Regions from separate parts of the Homo sapiens genome. Here region 1 is linked to region 2. The links are contacts of gene promoters, found by promoter capture Hi-C in blood cells and fetal thymus (Javierre and others, 2016). All regions are on one chromosome and are shown on one strand. Each heading gives the region's core, a stretch centred on a gene start or on the middle of the fragment in contact. The rest is flanking DNA. Distances are from core to core; before and after follow the strand shown.

Region 1 (6,835 bases), core at 11-2,510, 550 kb after region 2:
GCTTTCTTAAAAATATATATACAAATTCTCAAGTAAAATATAGTAAACTTGTTACTTTTTCAGGTATTTGATGCCTTTATCTGTAAATTCTTTCAAAGGAAATATGGCATGAACAAATATTGAGACAGGGATGTTTCACCAACTCTCAACTCCCCTTATTCAAGGGTTGGATCATAATAACTACATCTAAGTAATCCAGAAATTATCATTTTACTGAAAACCACGAAGACTATGTAGATGGAGAGAGATGAAAGAAGTACTATTTTTAAATCTGCAGCTTTATATCAATATACATAAATACATACCAGATAACCATATTTTATAAGAATACATATATATTCAAGGGTATATGTCAAATTTTAAAAAGAAAGGGGATTTGGCGTGGTCCTATCATTATGAAAGGGGATTCGGCGTGTTCCTGTCCTTATTTTACTCATCATGTCATCCCCTATCGTCTACCAGGCGTCCAGGCGCTGAGGACCAACCTTCTCTTCCTCCTCTGGCTAAGAAAACAATCAGCTTTCCCAGAGCCACCGCTGTCTGGACGCTAGATGGCGCCGCTGAGCTCCCCCCACCCCCCGCCTTTCCCCCACCCCCCCGCCTCCTCCCCACCACCCCGCCCACACCTGCGGTTCCTGCAGAGGGGTTGCTCAGGTGACCGGGCCGTTTGGACCACTTGGTTCAAATTCAGGATCCAGGTAGATGCAGCTGGGGAAAGCAGGGAGGAATGGGAGGCTACAGACAGAATGACCACATGCGTGCCTTCCTGCAGGGCTTGTCTTCTCCAAAGCCCCTGGTCAGTCACATGTTTTACTTGGCTCCCTTCCTTCTTCCTCGCCTTCTCCAGACCCTCTAAGCATGTGCCTTTGTCTCTTCCCAAACCTCCTGAGTCGCCTGAGGCCCTCTGGTGGTTCAATTCTTTATTGGAAGAACAAGCAACATGTTTACCCCAAGGGTTTCCACGGAGAAATACAAACACGTCTATTATTGGCAAGAAAAGCAGCACTGATTTGTTGAAGAACTAGGGAATTGTTCTAATTCTGCAGATTAGTCTCTTCTTGTCTTTGGTTGAAGTAACACAACCATCTCCATAGAGGTTCCTAAGCATAGAGGAAGATTGTATTGTAACAATACAAGGCTGCCGTAACTATGTAATTGGCCATAATTGAAGACAAGAATGGTGGGAAGTATGGGTTTGCAATTACCTAATATTCCTGTCCTAACCCATTTCAGGAGATCTTGCTGCGAGGTGCATGTTACCCATATAACAGACCCTGGGAGTATACCCAGGAGCAGTGGTGCGGATCACAGAAGGGGCTTTAAGACGCCCCTGGTGTTCTATGGCCATTAGCTACCAGTAGGAGCAGCTGCACCCCTGGCTGACCACAGATGTGGCTGTCAAACACAGTGAGTTAACAAAGGACAGTGAAACAGGGGGACGTGCAAGTCAGAGGAGATGCCTGCTTCCTCCTAGATCCCCACCATTTTCCTGGCTTTCTACTCTATTCCCAAAAAGAAGACACACTGGGGTAGAGGGCTGAGGGGAATAATTCAGTCCACAGATGCAGTTTTCTCTCTTTTTGCTACCATGGTTCTGAATGAAGAGCTAATATTATACTATTCCCACCTGTGATGAGCCCCAGTCCTTTTGATTCTTTTTCTTCTTCATCATCCATCCAAACGTCCCCAAGTGGTAAACAGGCCAGCAAACCTGTTATCCTCTCTTCTGTCCCTTCCACACATGTTTTAGCTTTAGTGGAAGCTCACAGAATAACCCTCAATTATCTGTTGTGGTCTGTGGCATTACCTTCTTAAAGGAAAGCTGATGGGTTCTTTCAACAGGTTTGGGGTCCACTCCCAGCTAACAATTAGTGTGACCTTAGCCGAGCACAGTGTCTCACGCCTGTTATCCCAGCACTTTGGGAGGCCGAGGCGGGTGGATCACGAGGTCGGAGATCAAGACCATCCTGGCTAACATGGTGAAACCCCATCTCCACGAAAAATAGAAAAGAAAATTAGCTGGGCGTGGTGGCGGGCGCCTGTAGTCCCAGCAACTCATGAGGCTGAGGCAGGAGAATGGTGTGAATCAGGGAGGCTGAGCTTGCAGTGAGCCGACATCGCGCCACTGCAGTCCAGCCTGGGTGACAGAGCAAGACTCCATCTCAAAAAAAATTGTGTGACCTTGTTTTCCTTTACCATTGTTTCTAGTTGCCCAGGAATCTAGTGGGAAGATGTGGCTATGGTCTGGGGCAGGATATTTTGGGAAGCCTGGTGTCCAGGGATATTAGGCAAACAAACTTTTGCATTGCACTTAATATTTCAGAAACCCAGCTGAATAGCTCTTATTTTTATGGCACTAAGAAAGTAAATCTTAAATCTTTGCTCTTAACACCATTAAGACAAAATTATTATGAAAATTGGACAAAGTGCCTTATAGCAGCTGATATATTTAAAACATCAATGATTGTACCCTTAGCATTGTTTTATTTTTATTTTTTAAAATTATCTAAACATTGTTTCAAAGCTTGTGAAACTACTAAAAGACAAAGGATTGTAAATGTCAATGAAAGGAAAAGTAAAACAGCAAGTATTTTAGCATACGGGGGCAATCAAGTCATAAAGAAAAAGGGTTAGTAGCTCACTAGACAATAAATTATTATAAAGAAGAGCCAAGAAAAGTATTGCTTTGAAACTTTTTACTTTTAACCTTCAGCCTTACTGAAGAATTTGTTCACTATACTTTAAAAATTTATTATTCTGATCATATTTTCCTTGATTTAAGAGTAGTGTCTTCAACATTAGCTGATATACCTACTAATAGCATCCCACGTCCTACCATCATTTCTTACATCTGACATCTTCTGCTGTTGATCCATAGGTTAACAAAACAAAACAGAAACTACACACAGAAAGAAAAAGAAAGGGAAGAAAGAAAAAAGAAGGAAGAGAAAAAAGCAGAGACCACTTCCAGAATGATTGTATGAGGAGCTCTGCAGACCTGCTCCCCAGCAAAACACTTATATCTAGTTAAATGATTTTTAAGCATTTAAAGTCTCTGGAAATTGTTCCCAATAAGAACAATGAGAATCTATGACACTTGAGCCATGACTCACTTCCTCTCTCCTCCATCCCCCCAACTCACTTAACAGAAGCTCCACTCTTCATGGACTTAGCCAGGAAAACACAGCTCCCTCTCCATCCAGCTCCCAGTCAAGCAATACAATGGCTCCCCAGAAGAGGCAGGCCACCAGAATTCCTCAGCCCCCATTTTGCACAGGCTAAATTGTAGATGAGTGCAGCTGAGAGAATGGAAGCTTCTCTCCTCCACCCAGTCCCCACTCATAGGTGGAGACTACCCCAGGTGATGCAGGCTGAAATTACTGAAGCCCCAATTGCGTTTGGATCAGAGGTTCCATGCTACAACAGCAACCTGAGAAGACAAGAGGCTACTGCCACCACGCAGAGCCCTGCTCTGTAAAGCAGGAGGGCTCTGAGAGAAGCCAGCCACAGCCCCTACCCCCAGGTCTTGAGCAGTGACTCAAAGATTTTGCCCAAAGGAAGAGGTAGATCATAAGAACAGAGAGCACTGAAGCTCTCCCCCGACCCCCCAAGAAACTAACTTGATTTAAAACAGGATGTAGAGAAGTTCAAGCATAAGGGAACTCGCAAAAACAATGGAGATTTTGGTGGTAAACAATAAAGATAATGGGATAAACTATATGCCAGCCAGTTTACCAGAGAAAACAAAACAAATAGCTAAGAAGAGTCCTTCCACTGTCTGAACAAACCCCAAAGACTGGACTCAAAACAATCCTACAAAGGGACCCAAATTTATCTGGATCATACTGTGAAGCATTGCATACTCCAGGCATTGTAGAAAAACAATAGAAAATCAGCCAGTAATTAGTGTACCCTGACAGCTGGGTGTGATGCCAACAGAGACTGATGGCTTAGCAAAGAGATCAGGAAATGAGAAAATTAAAGAGAGGCCGGTTAAAACTTCTGTCACCCCAGATGACTGACTGTACATGTACCTAAGGCTGTGCCCTCTGAGGAGTGAAATCAGAGGCTTCACATTATGGGGAAATACACTTCACAAAATAGTCAAGCAAAGTCACTAAACAAATAAGCCAAAAACAACAAGAAGCCTTGGCCAGGAGTAAGGAGTACGTGGAGGGGAGGGCAGCATCAGTATCCAGAGTTGCTCCAATATATTATCTAAAATATGTTATCTAAAATGATCAGCTTTTAACAACAAAGCATTATGAGACATGCAAAGAAACAGAAAAGTATAACCCACAGAATAAAAAAACCCGGCAACAAAAACTCTGTGAGAGGGCCCAGATGGGGGAATTAACAGAGACATCAAAGCAGCTGTTATAAATATGGTCAAAGTACTAAAGGAAACTATGCTTAAAGAAGTGAATAAGGTTATGACAATGTCCACTCAAATAGAGAATATTAATATAAAAACAGAAAGTATTTTTTAAAAGAACCAAATGGAAATTCTGGAGTTGAGAAATATAATAACTAAAATGAAGAATTTGCTAGAGGAGCTGAGTAGTGGATTTGAACTGGAAGAAGAAAAAATCAGCAAACTTGAATACAGATCAATAAAGATTATGCAATTTGAAAAGCAGAGAGAAAAAAAGCAGAAAGAAAAATGAACAGAGCCTCAGAGAAATGTGTGACATTATTAAGTGTACCAAATATGCAAAATGGGAGTAACTGAAGGAGGAAGAGAGAGAAGAAAACAGAAAAAAAAATCTAAGAAATAATGCCTGAAAACTTCCCAAATATGATGGAAAACATTAATCCACATGTTCAAGAAGCTCAACAAGCTTCAATTAGGAGAAACAAAAACAGATTTAACCCAGACACATCATCTTAAAAATGTTGAAAGCCAAAGACATAAAGAAAATATTGAAATCACCGAGAGAAAAATACTAGTCACATACAAGGGAACCCCAATGAGATTAACAATTGACTTTTCATCAGAAATAATGGAGGCCAGAGGCACTGAGATAACATATTTAAAGTGCTGAAAGAAAAAAAACTGTCAAGCAAGAATCTTATATCCAGCAATATTGTTTTTTTAAAAATGAAAGTAAAATAAAACCATTCTTAGATAAACAAAAACTAAGAGAATTCCTTGCTGGCATGCCACCTCACAAAAAATAGCAAAATAAATTCTTTAGGCTGAAAGCAAATGGCCTAGACAGTAACTTAAACCCACAAACAAAATTTAAAGAGCACCAATGTAGATAATTTTGTAATTATAAAAACAATAGTGTAAATGCATATTTCTTCTTCTTTCTTTACTTAACTAATTTTAAAAGCAATTGTGGGCTCTGTGTGTGTGTGTGTGTGTGTGTGTGTGTGTATGTGTTTAAAATTGTATTGTTGGGTCTACACATATAGAAATGTATTTATTTTACAATAATAGCACAAAACCAGTAGGTGGGAGCAAAGCTGCACTGGAATAAGGAAATATCAGCTGATGGTAACTTGAATCCACAGGTACAATAAAAAGAGCCAAAAATGATAAATAAGAAGGTTAATATAACAAAATCTATAAATACATACTTGCTTTCCTTTCTTCTCTCAGCTTCTTTAAAAGGTACAGAATTCCATAAAGTAATAGTTATAACTATGTTATTTTGGGTTTGCAACATATATAGATATAATATGTATAACAATAATGACACAAAAGGAGAACAGAATATAGAGCTATACAAAAGCAGCATTTCTATAACTCGTTGGAATTAAGTTAGTATAATCTGAAGCAGATTCTGATAAGTTAAAATGTGTATGGTAAGGCCTAGAGCAACCACTAAGAAAATAACTAAAAAAAAAAATACAGATAAATGAGATTAACCAAGAAAAGAAGAGAGACTATCCAAATAAGCTCAATTAGAAATGAAACTGGAGATATTACAACCAATACCACAGAAATACAAAAATCATTCAAGGCTACTATGAATAGCTTTACACACACAAACTAGAGAATCTAGAGGAAATAGATAAATTCCTGGGAACATACAACTCTCCTAGAATAAATCAGGAAGAAATATAAACCCTGATCGGACCAATAACAAGTAGTGAGATTTCAACAGTAATAAAAAAAATTTCCAACAACAACAAAAGTTCAGGACTAGATGGATTCACAGCTGAATTCTATCAGACATTCAAAGAAGAATCAGTACCAATCCTACAGAAACTTTTCAAAAGATACAGAAAGAGGGAATCCTCCCTAAATCATTCTATGAAGCCAGTATCACCCGAATACCAAAACCAGGAAAGGACATAACAAAAAAAGAAAACTACAGACCAATATCCCTGATGAACATAGAGGCAAAAATCCTCAACAAAAATACTAGCTAACCAAATCCAACAGCATATCAAAAAGATAATCCACCATGATCAAATGGGTTTCATCCCAAGGATGCAGGGAATGTTTAGCATACTCAAGTCAATAAATGTGATCTCTCACATAAACAGAATTAAAAACAAAAATCATCTGATCATCTCAATAGATGCAGAAAATAATTTTATAAAATCCGGCATTGCTTTATGATAAAAACCATTAACAAAATAGGCATAAAAGGGACTTACCTCAAAGTAATAAAAGCCGTATATGACAAACCCACAGTCAACACCATACTGAATGGGGAAAAGTTGAAAGCATTCCCCCGATAAATGGAATAAGACAAGTATGCCCACTTTCACCACTTCTATTTAACATAGTACTAAAAGTCCTCGCCAGAGCAATCAGACAAGAGAAAAAATAAAGGGGATCCAAATTGGAAAATAGGAAGTCAAATTGTCGCTGTTC
Region 2 (7,657 bases), core at 4,245-6,744:
AAGAACACATCTGCAGTTGAATGGGGTTGGGTTTATCGGCTCCTTGCAAGGAGGAGGAAAGTAAACCAAAAGGAACTATGGGATGTCTCACAAGAGGGTGTTAAAAAGGACTCTTTATAGGACAGGGCTTGTTTTAGTAGATTTGGGGGAGGTTGCAAGAAAATGGGGATTTCCTCTCAATGGGATGATGTCGGGAAGTAGGGGCAATTCTATAATTGTGTATATTTTAGATAATTCTTATGGAGAAGACGAGAAGAATAGAGTGAGGCTAAAGCTATGACGGTGAAAAGCATTAGTCATTTGTATCAGCCAGGATGGGGAGGTTTCCTGCGGTTTGGATAATGTTCTTGTTTTGTCTGTGCTCAGAGATCATTATGGAGTGGTCTGATCTCTGCCAAAAGACACGAGGGATTTCTGGGAGCACCACAAGCTAAGACAAAGACATGGAACAGAGTCTTTCCTAGAGCTTTCAGAGAGAGTACAACACCTTGATTTCAGACTTCTACCCTCCAGAACCGTGAGACAATACATTTCTGTTGTTTTAGGCTACCCTGTTTGTGGTATTTTCTTACTGCAGTCCTGGAAAACTAATAAAGATGCCAACTTTAAAGTATACAGAGTTGCCAGTTGCGGTGGCTCACGCCTGTAATCCCAGCACTTTGGGAGGCCAAGGTGGGCGGATCACGAGATCAGGAGTTCAAGACCAGCCTGGCCAATATGGTGAAATCCCATCTGTACTAAAAATACAAAAATTAGCCAGGCGTGGTGGTGCAGAGCTGTAGTTCCAGTTACTCGGGAGGCTGAGGCAGAAGAATCGCTTGAACCCGAAGAGCCGAGATCGCACCACTGCGCTCCAGCCTGGGTGACAGAGTGAGACTCCATCTCAACAACAATGGCAACAACAACAACAAAACAAAGAACATACAGAGTTTTTCAAGATTCTTCTGGGGGCCCGTGAGCCCAAAAATTTGCTTTAGATCAGTGTTTCTCAAAAGCTTACATAAACCATGTGATTCTCATGCATTTCACTCCCTTAGGGGTTTATTTTAAAAGTCATTTTCTGGGCTTCTTCCAGACCCACATAATGGGTGTGGGCCCTGTATTCTGCATTTTCAAACAAGTTTCCCAGGTTCTTCTACATCCCAAAACACTGCTGAAGTAGGAAGATACCTGGGCTGTAGACAAAAATTTGGATTTAATCTTTACCCAGTCTATTACTGAGCAAGTCTTGTCAATTTAGGCAATTTAAGAGTTAAAGTGTACACTCTACTGGGAAAATCCCCGGTTCCAAGTCGAGTGACTCTGAAATTTATTCACTGCACAGCATTTGTAAAATTGCTTCTTCTTTTTTTTTTTTTTTTGAGACAGAGTCTCACTCTGTTACCTAGGCAGGATGGAGTCCAATGGCGTGAGCTTGGCTCACCACAAGCTCCGCCTCTCAGGTTCAAGCGATTCTCCTGCCTTGGCCTCCCGAATAGCTGGGATTACAGGCATGCACCACCATGCCTAGCTAATTTTGTATTTTTAGTAGAAACGGGGTTTCTCCATGTTTCTCAGGCTGGTCTTGAACTCCTGACCTCAGGTGATTTGCCTGCCTCGGCCTCCCAAAGTGCTGGGATTATAGGCATGAGCCACCTCGCCTGGCCCAGAACAAACTTCTTAAGGGTCTGTCTAGCTCTGACATTCCACAAGGCTATGAAATGGTCCAGGAAGAGTTAGGGCAGGATGGCAAATTCAGGTGCCTTTGACTTTGGGAAGATGGAGGCAAAGCACTTTGTCCATCCAATTACTTTGTATTTATTTATTTATTGTTTGTTTGCCCAGACTCCAGTCTTGACAATTACTCTGCATTTTAAAACACTGTTGGGGCTAACCCTACCAACCTCTCCCCTGACCCGAGACAGAGTTAGCAGCTAATGTAGCTACTTCCCACTTTCTGTCACCCCTGCAAACAGGGCAAACAGGGATGCTGTATCTGGAAGCTCTAGGGGCAGGAGCCAGTCCTATTTATCCTTTGTAAAACACCTAGCAAAACGAGATGATTTTAGGTCAACCCTCCTGAAACTTGGCTTGGCTGCAGTGACAAGTTTTGTACCTACAGGAAGATCAGCATTTCCTTCCGTTCTTCCTCTGCCAATCCATCCCTGACTGGTCTTTTGCCCTCTTTTGAGTAAGAAACTCCTTGTTTTAGAGTGTTTCTGGATTAACGCTGGAAAGGGACCAACTCTGAGCCCATAGTGTGGATCCCATGTAACAGTACTCTTACCAGAAAAGGGGTTTCACCCCAGACCCCAAGGGCAGGTTCTTGGATCTTGCACAGGAAAGAATTTAGGGTGAGTCGCAAAGTACAGTAAAGTTTAAATGGTTTATTAGAAACTAATCTATTAGAGTAGGGTATCCTCAGGAAGCAAGAGGAAGAACGCCCTACCTCAAATGTAATGCTTGTTTGTGTAGGATATTAGAGCTAAGAATAGTGTATTTTATTACAAAGGCTTGTGATCGGCTTGTGACAGACTATCTGTATTGTTATTCTCTTGTGCAATTAATTTCAGAAAGAATTTATGAGTGGACTATTATCTTTAGAGCAAAATATAGTTTAAATTAAGAATGCCTTTTTCCAGGCCAGGCGCCATGGCTCAAGCCTGTAATCCCAGCACTTCGGGAGGCTGAGGTGGGTGGATCACTTGAAGTCAGGAGTTTGAGACCAGGCTGGCCAATATGGCAAAACCCCGTCTCTACTAAAAATATAAAAATTAGCCAGGTAAAGTGGCGCACATCTGTAATTCCAGCTACTTCGAAGGCTGAAGCAGGAGAATCACTTGAACCCGGGAGGCAGAGGTTGCAGTGAGCCGAGATGGTGGCATTGCACTCCAGCCTGGGCAACAGAGTGAGACTCCATCTCCAAAACAAAAACAAAAACAAGAATGCCTTTTTCCATTAACTTGTTTCCTCAACAATAAACATCTTGTGATCAAGAGTGCTGACTTCCTGGGAATGCAACCCAGCAGGTCTTGCCTTCCCCAGCCTTTATTTAGGATAGTGTCACTCTAGTTAGGACACCTCTGACAATACAACTCAAATCATTGGTAGCTCATGAAAAGAACTCACTCTTTGACTAAACTTGAGTCAGGCTCCTCTCAGTCCTCGTTTTGACTAGGCCCTGACCCTGGGCTGGTCCTTAACTCACTTAGTTCAGTTTTAGCAAGAATCCTGCTGAGTCAGTTCAGCAAAAATCCCCTACCCTTGGTATCTGATCACCTCGGCTTGTGTTCAGCAAAAATCTCCCTAACCTTTATGTGTCCTCTTAGTAATTTTCCATCTGCTGACTTCCACCCTGTTGCTTAACTATAAATCTCCACCTGTCCTTGTATTTGATGTTAAGCCTGATTTTTTTGCCCCTATTGCATAATCCCTATTGCAGCTGTTCTTGAATAAAGTCTCTCACCTTAACAATTGTTTGAATAATTTTTCTTTTAGTGCCATTTCCTACTGTAACATGCTGTGTGAGTCTCAATTTTCTGATCCATATAATGGAGAAACTAATACTTCCATCTCCGAGGCATGGAGATCAACTGAAATTAAAAATAACTTGCATATGGCTGGGCAGGGTGGCACACACCTGCAATCCCAGCACTTTGGGAGGCCAAGGCGGGCAGATCACTTGAAGTCAGGAGTTTGAGACCACCCTGGCCAATATGGCGAAACCCCGTCTCTACTAAAAATACAAAAATTAGCCAGGTGTGGTGGTTCACGCCTGTAGTCTTAGCTACTTGGGAGACTGAGGCAGGAGAATCGCTTGAACTCAGGAGGTGGAGGTTGCAGTGAGCTGAGATCACACCACTGCACTCCAGCCTGGGCAAGAGAGTGAGACTCCATCTCAAAAAAATAAAAATAAAAATAAAAAACTTGGATAAAGTGTAAAGATAAAAATCACTATTCTTGGGCAGGGGTCCCAGCTGTAGCCCAAGCTGGAGAACTAGACTGGCTTGGCATTAATTTGCTTGGGGCAGGAGAAGGGTCATCTGAAAGATATGGGAAAAGCTGAGGTTGCCCCTGGGAAGACTAGGGAAGCCTGCCCCCGGGCCAGCCCCTTGAATATGTCCAACTGAGGAGGTGGAAAGAAGTTCAAGGTAGCCAGGGAGACAAAAGTTGTTCACTTTGGTGCACATGTGGAACCAACATGGGACAAACAGGCATTTTGTGCTCGTCCAGGGAACATGACTTCTTCGGCTCCCACACAATTTGTAGCTGCAGGAGTGGCAGAGCACCAGAGTGGATGCAGGCCCAGATGTTCTCTGGGTTAGGTGTTAAGGACTTGTGGGAGTCATCAGGCAGCAGGCATTTGCCCCAGTGTCAGAGGTGTTTAAGCCAGAATTACTCCATCTTGAATAAGGGCTGGGTAAAATGAGGCTGCATTCATAGGAGGTTAGGCATTCTAAGTCACAGGATGAGACAGAAGGTTGGCACAAGATACAGGTCATACAGACCTTGCTGATAAAACAGGTTGCAGTAAAGAAGCTGGCTAAACGCCACCAAAACCAATATGGCAATGGGAGGGACCTCTGGTGGTCCTCACTGCTCATTATGCACTAATTATAATGCATTAGCATGCTAAAAGACACTCCCACCAGCAAGCACCATGACAGTTTACAGACGCCATGACACCATCATGAAATACTCTATATGGTCTAAAAAGGGGAGGAAGCCTCAGTTCCGGGAACTGCCCACCCCTTTCTCTGAAACTCATGAATAATTCAACCCTTGTTTAGCATATAATCAAGAAATAACCAAAAAATGGGTAACCAGTAGCCCTGGAGCTGCTCTGCCTATGGAGTAGCCATCCTTTTACTTCTTTGCTTTCTTAATAAACTTGTTTTCACTTTACTCTATGGGCTTGCCCTGAATTCTTTCTTGCATGAGATCCAAGAACCCTCTCTTAGGGCCTGGATCGGGACCCCTTTCTGATAACACCAGGAGACACCCTGGGTGGATTTCCTGAACCGACCGATAGATGAGCCTTCCACGCGGGAGACCTGGATCCTTATCGTCTTTGTGGCCCCTTCCATCTGCACGTGCGGACGAGGTCCGGGTCGCACTCGGGCGGTCAGCCTGGCACGCACAGCGCCGGCGTGCAGGGGGCCTTGGGTGCCACCGAGTCCGGGAGGAAATCTAGGCCGCCATCCGTCCGGAGACTGGCACCTGTGACCACCACCCAACATGTATTGAACAAGGGCTTGGAGGTCCTTTCTCTAAGGCCGCACCGATAAACGATTACCGACTGTTGACCTCACGGCCCCTTCGCTTCCGGCCGCACCGCCTCGCTGCCCACGCCTGCGCACTCAGGCACCGCAGGTAGGAGGAACGTACCAACTGCGAGGCGGGGGGTGCGCGCGAAGACCCCCGCAGGCTGCGCTTCCGGAAGTAACCCCTGGCGCATCCCGGAATCCAGAGCGCCCACTACGGCCTTTGGCCAGGCCCCCTGGGCGCGTTCCGGGAGCTCAGGCCTGCGGCGCTGGGAGAAGCACGCTGGCCAACAAGTTGGGTGGTGGGCACGCGGCCCAGGGGTCAGGGGCCGCCAGGCGGCGGGCGGCGGGGCTGCGGCTCTTACCTGCCGAGGAGGCGCCGGCTCTGCGGTGCGGAGTTGCGCCGGACTTCCCAGCTTGGCCAGTGGCTCCGCAGGCTGCCGGCTCCACCCCTCAGGTAAGCGGGGACTGGGCCGCCGAGGTTCAGGGAAGGGGGCGGCTGTCGGGGCCCGTGCCGGCCCCGGGGGGCCACCTGCTGGGCCAGCGGTGCCCTCGCGCCGAAACACACTGGGAGAGGCCAGAATCTTCCGGAACAGCCAGCCCTTACCCATCTCTCCCTCTGTGCCGAGAACTGCCCTGAAATACTGTGGTATTAATTAACTCGTTTAACACTAACAATCTCATGAGGCGGGTGCTGTTACTATTCCCGTAATGTAGACGAGGAAACCGAGGCGTGTGCTGGAGCAGGATCACGGCCGTGCTCAGAGACGGGCTCTGGATGCCATGCTCTGACTCCATTGTTAGCCCTAAGCTTCCAGAAAGTAGCAGAGTGCTGCCGTGTCGTTTGTAACAGATCTCACTTTGTGTCATTTTTTTTGCACAGTATGAAACCTAATGATGCATGATTATTATTTAAAACATCTTGCTTAGACTTTATAAGTAGTCAAATTTGCGTGTGGGACAAAACCCCAAAACATGCAATGGCTTGCTCTCCTCTTTTCCTTTCACACGTTCATCTCCTCCTATCCCTTTCTCTCACCACCTTTCAATCTTCTCACAGATGTTGTGGAGGAAGATGAGACTTGAGGGCCCAGCAGGTGCTTAAAATCCCCTGCCTGGTGGGGGTGGAGTAGACACTCTGTCCCCCTGCAGTGCTGGAGTTGAGAGCAGAGGGGCTGGAGAGGGACTGGGCGGAGTGAGAAAGGCCTGGCATAATCATGGAATGCCCAGGGTGGGGTTCTACTTCTCTTGCAGGCACAAGAGAAGTAGAAGAGTGGCCGCTTTCCTTCTGGGCACGCACTTGGGAAAAGGCTTGGTGAGAGCAGCGAGAAGAATAGGTCTAATTTCTTGAGCCAGTGTGCGGAGGTGCTTCCCAGCCCAGGCTAAGCCAGATCACTCAGCCAGCCGCTGGCTGCCTTTACAGATGTACGGCTCCCCGTGAGCAATCAACATGCCTGGCTCTCAGGCATAAGCTGCCTCACTTCCCTTCTGCACAGCACTCCAGGACTTGCCTGCTACCAGACCCATCCTACTTTCTCTGTCAGGAAAAATGAGAGTTCTTCCTGGTCTCTTGAGGCCAATCCCTTCCACCGCCTGTGCCCTGGATCCCTTTCTCCAGGAAGCTTCTCTTCCCTGTGTAGTTAGCCTCCCCGCTCTTCCCAGGTCACCTTCTCTCTGTTTAGGGACAGAGCCAAGCCTTTTCCCTCCCATCCCCACCTCCAGCATTCCCGGTTCCTGCTTCTCCCCCACTTCCTGCTGTACCGCCCACTGAAGGGACCTTTGACCCCGCTGACCACTGCTTTTGGAAAGTCTTTTCTTGGTTTCCCTAACTTCACTTTACTTTGGTTTTTCCTTGTCTCTCCCCTCTGCCTCTCAGTCACCTTTGAGATCTGCTCATCCTCTCACCTCCCTGTATTGTCAGCATTACCTGGGCAGCCCCCTCTGGTGTTTTCCTTCAGTTTCTCTAGAAACTTGCCTGAAGATTTGCCCCAAAATAGCCCACATGGACCTGTATGAGGAAAGAGGCTCACTGTGGAGGCGCTCTCCATCATTCCTCCTCTTCCACTTGAGGCTTAGGCATGGGCCACCTCCTGAACAGCTCTCCCCACAGTCTCCTCCATGCATTGTGCCATCACCCCGCCCTGCCGTCACCCCGGCCTGGCCCGCTTTCCCTTTTGCCTCCCAGGGATGTGCCTGCTTCCCATGTGGCCTGGCTAGGGCGCTTTCCTGACTGCTGCCCACATGATCGACTATGGGCAGGCGTGCAGCCCAAAAGGCCGTGCTTCAGCTTAGAAGCCCTTGGAATCTTGTCTTGTTGTGGTTGTAGGCCTCCAATGTGTTGTCAGCTGTGGTGATGTGTGTCACAAGTAACTTCTTTTTTTTGAGACAGGGTCTGGCTCTGTTGCTCAGGCTGG

Evidence for each region. The method cuts DNA at HindIII sites, captures the fragments that hold promoters and counts their contacts. A CHiCAGO score of 5 or more calls a contact.
Region 1: a contact is called between a fragment that was not itself captured here and the fragment with the promoter of LRRC61 in region 2, in 8 of 17 cell types (non-activated CD4 T cells, total CD4 T cells, endothelial precursors and 5 more). The highest score is 7.9, in non-activated CD4 T cells.

What each region holds. Positions count from the first base shown.
Region 1 is chr7:150,876,383-150,883,217 of GRCh38, forward strand. It overlaps LOC105375567 (a long non-coding RNA gene), which reads right to left and starts at 748. Exons shown (of 5, transcript XR_928171.3): 1 at 627-748. The HindIII fragment of the contact is 2,523 bases long and covers 1-2,522 here.
Region 2 is chr7:150,317,861-150,325,517 of GRCh38, forward strand. It overlaps LRRC61 (leucine rich repeat containing 61), which reads left to right and starts at 5,495. Exons shown (of 3, transcript NM_001142928.2): 1 at 5,495-5,700. ACTR3C (actin related protein 3C) reads right to left here and starts at 5,685. Exons shown (of 8, transcript NM_001164458.2): 1 at 5,609-5,685. RefSeq lists enhancers at 4,715-4,824, 4,875-4,934, 6,255-6,324 and a silencer at 5,545-5,864. The HindIII fragment of the contact is 5,059 bases long and covers 994-6,052 here.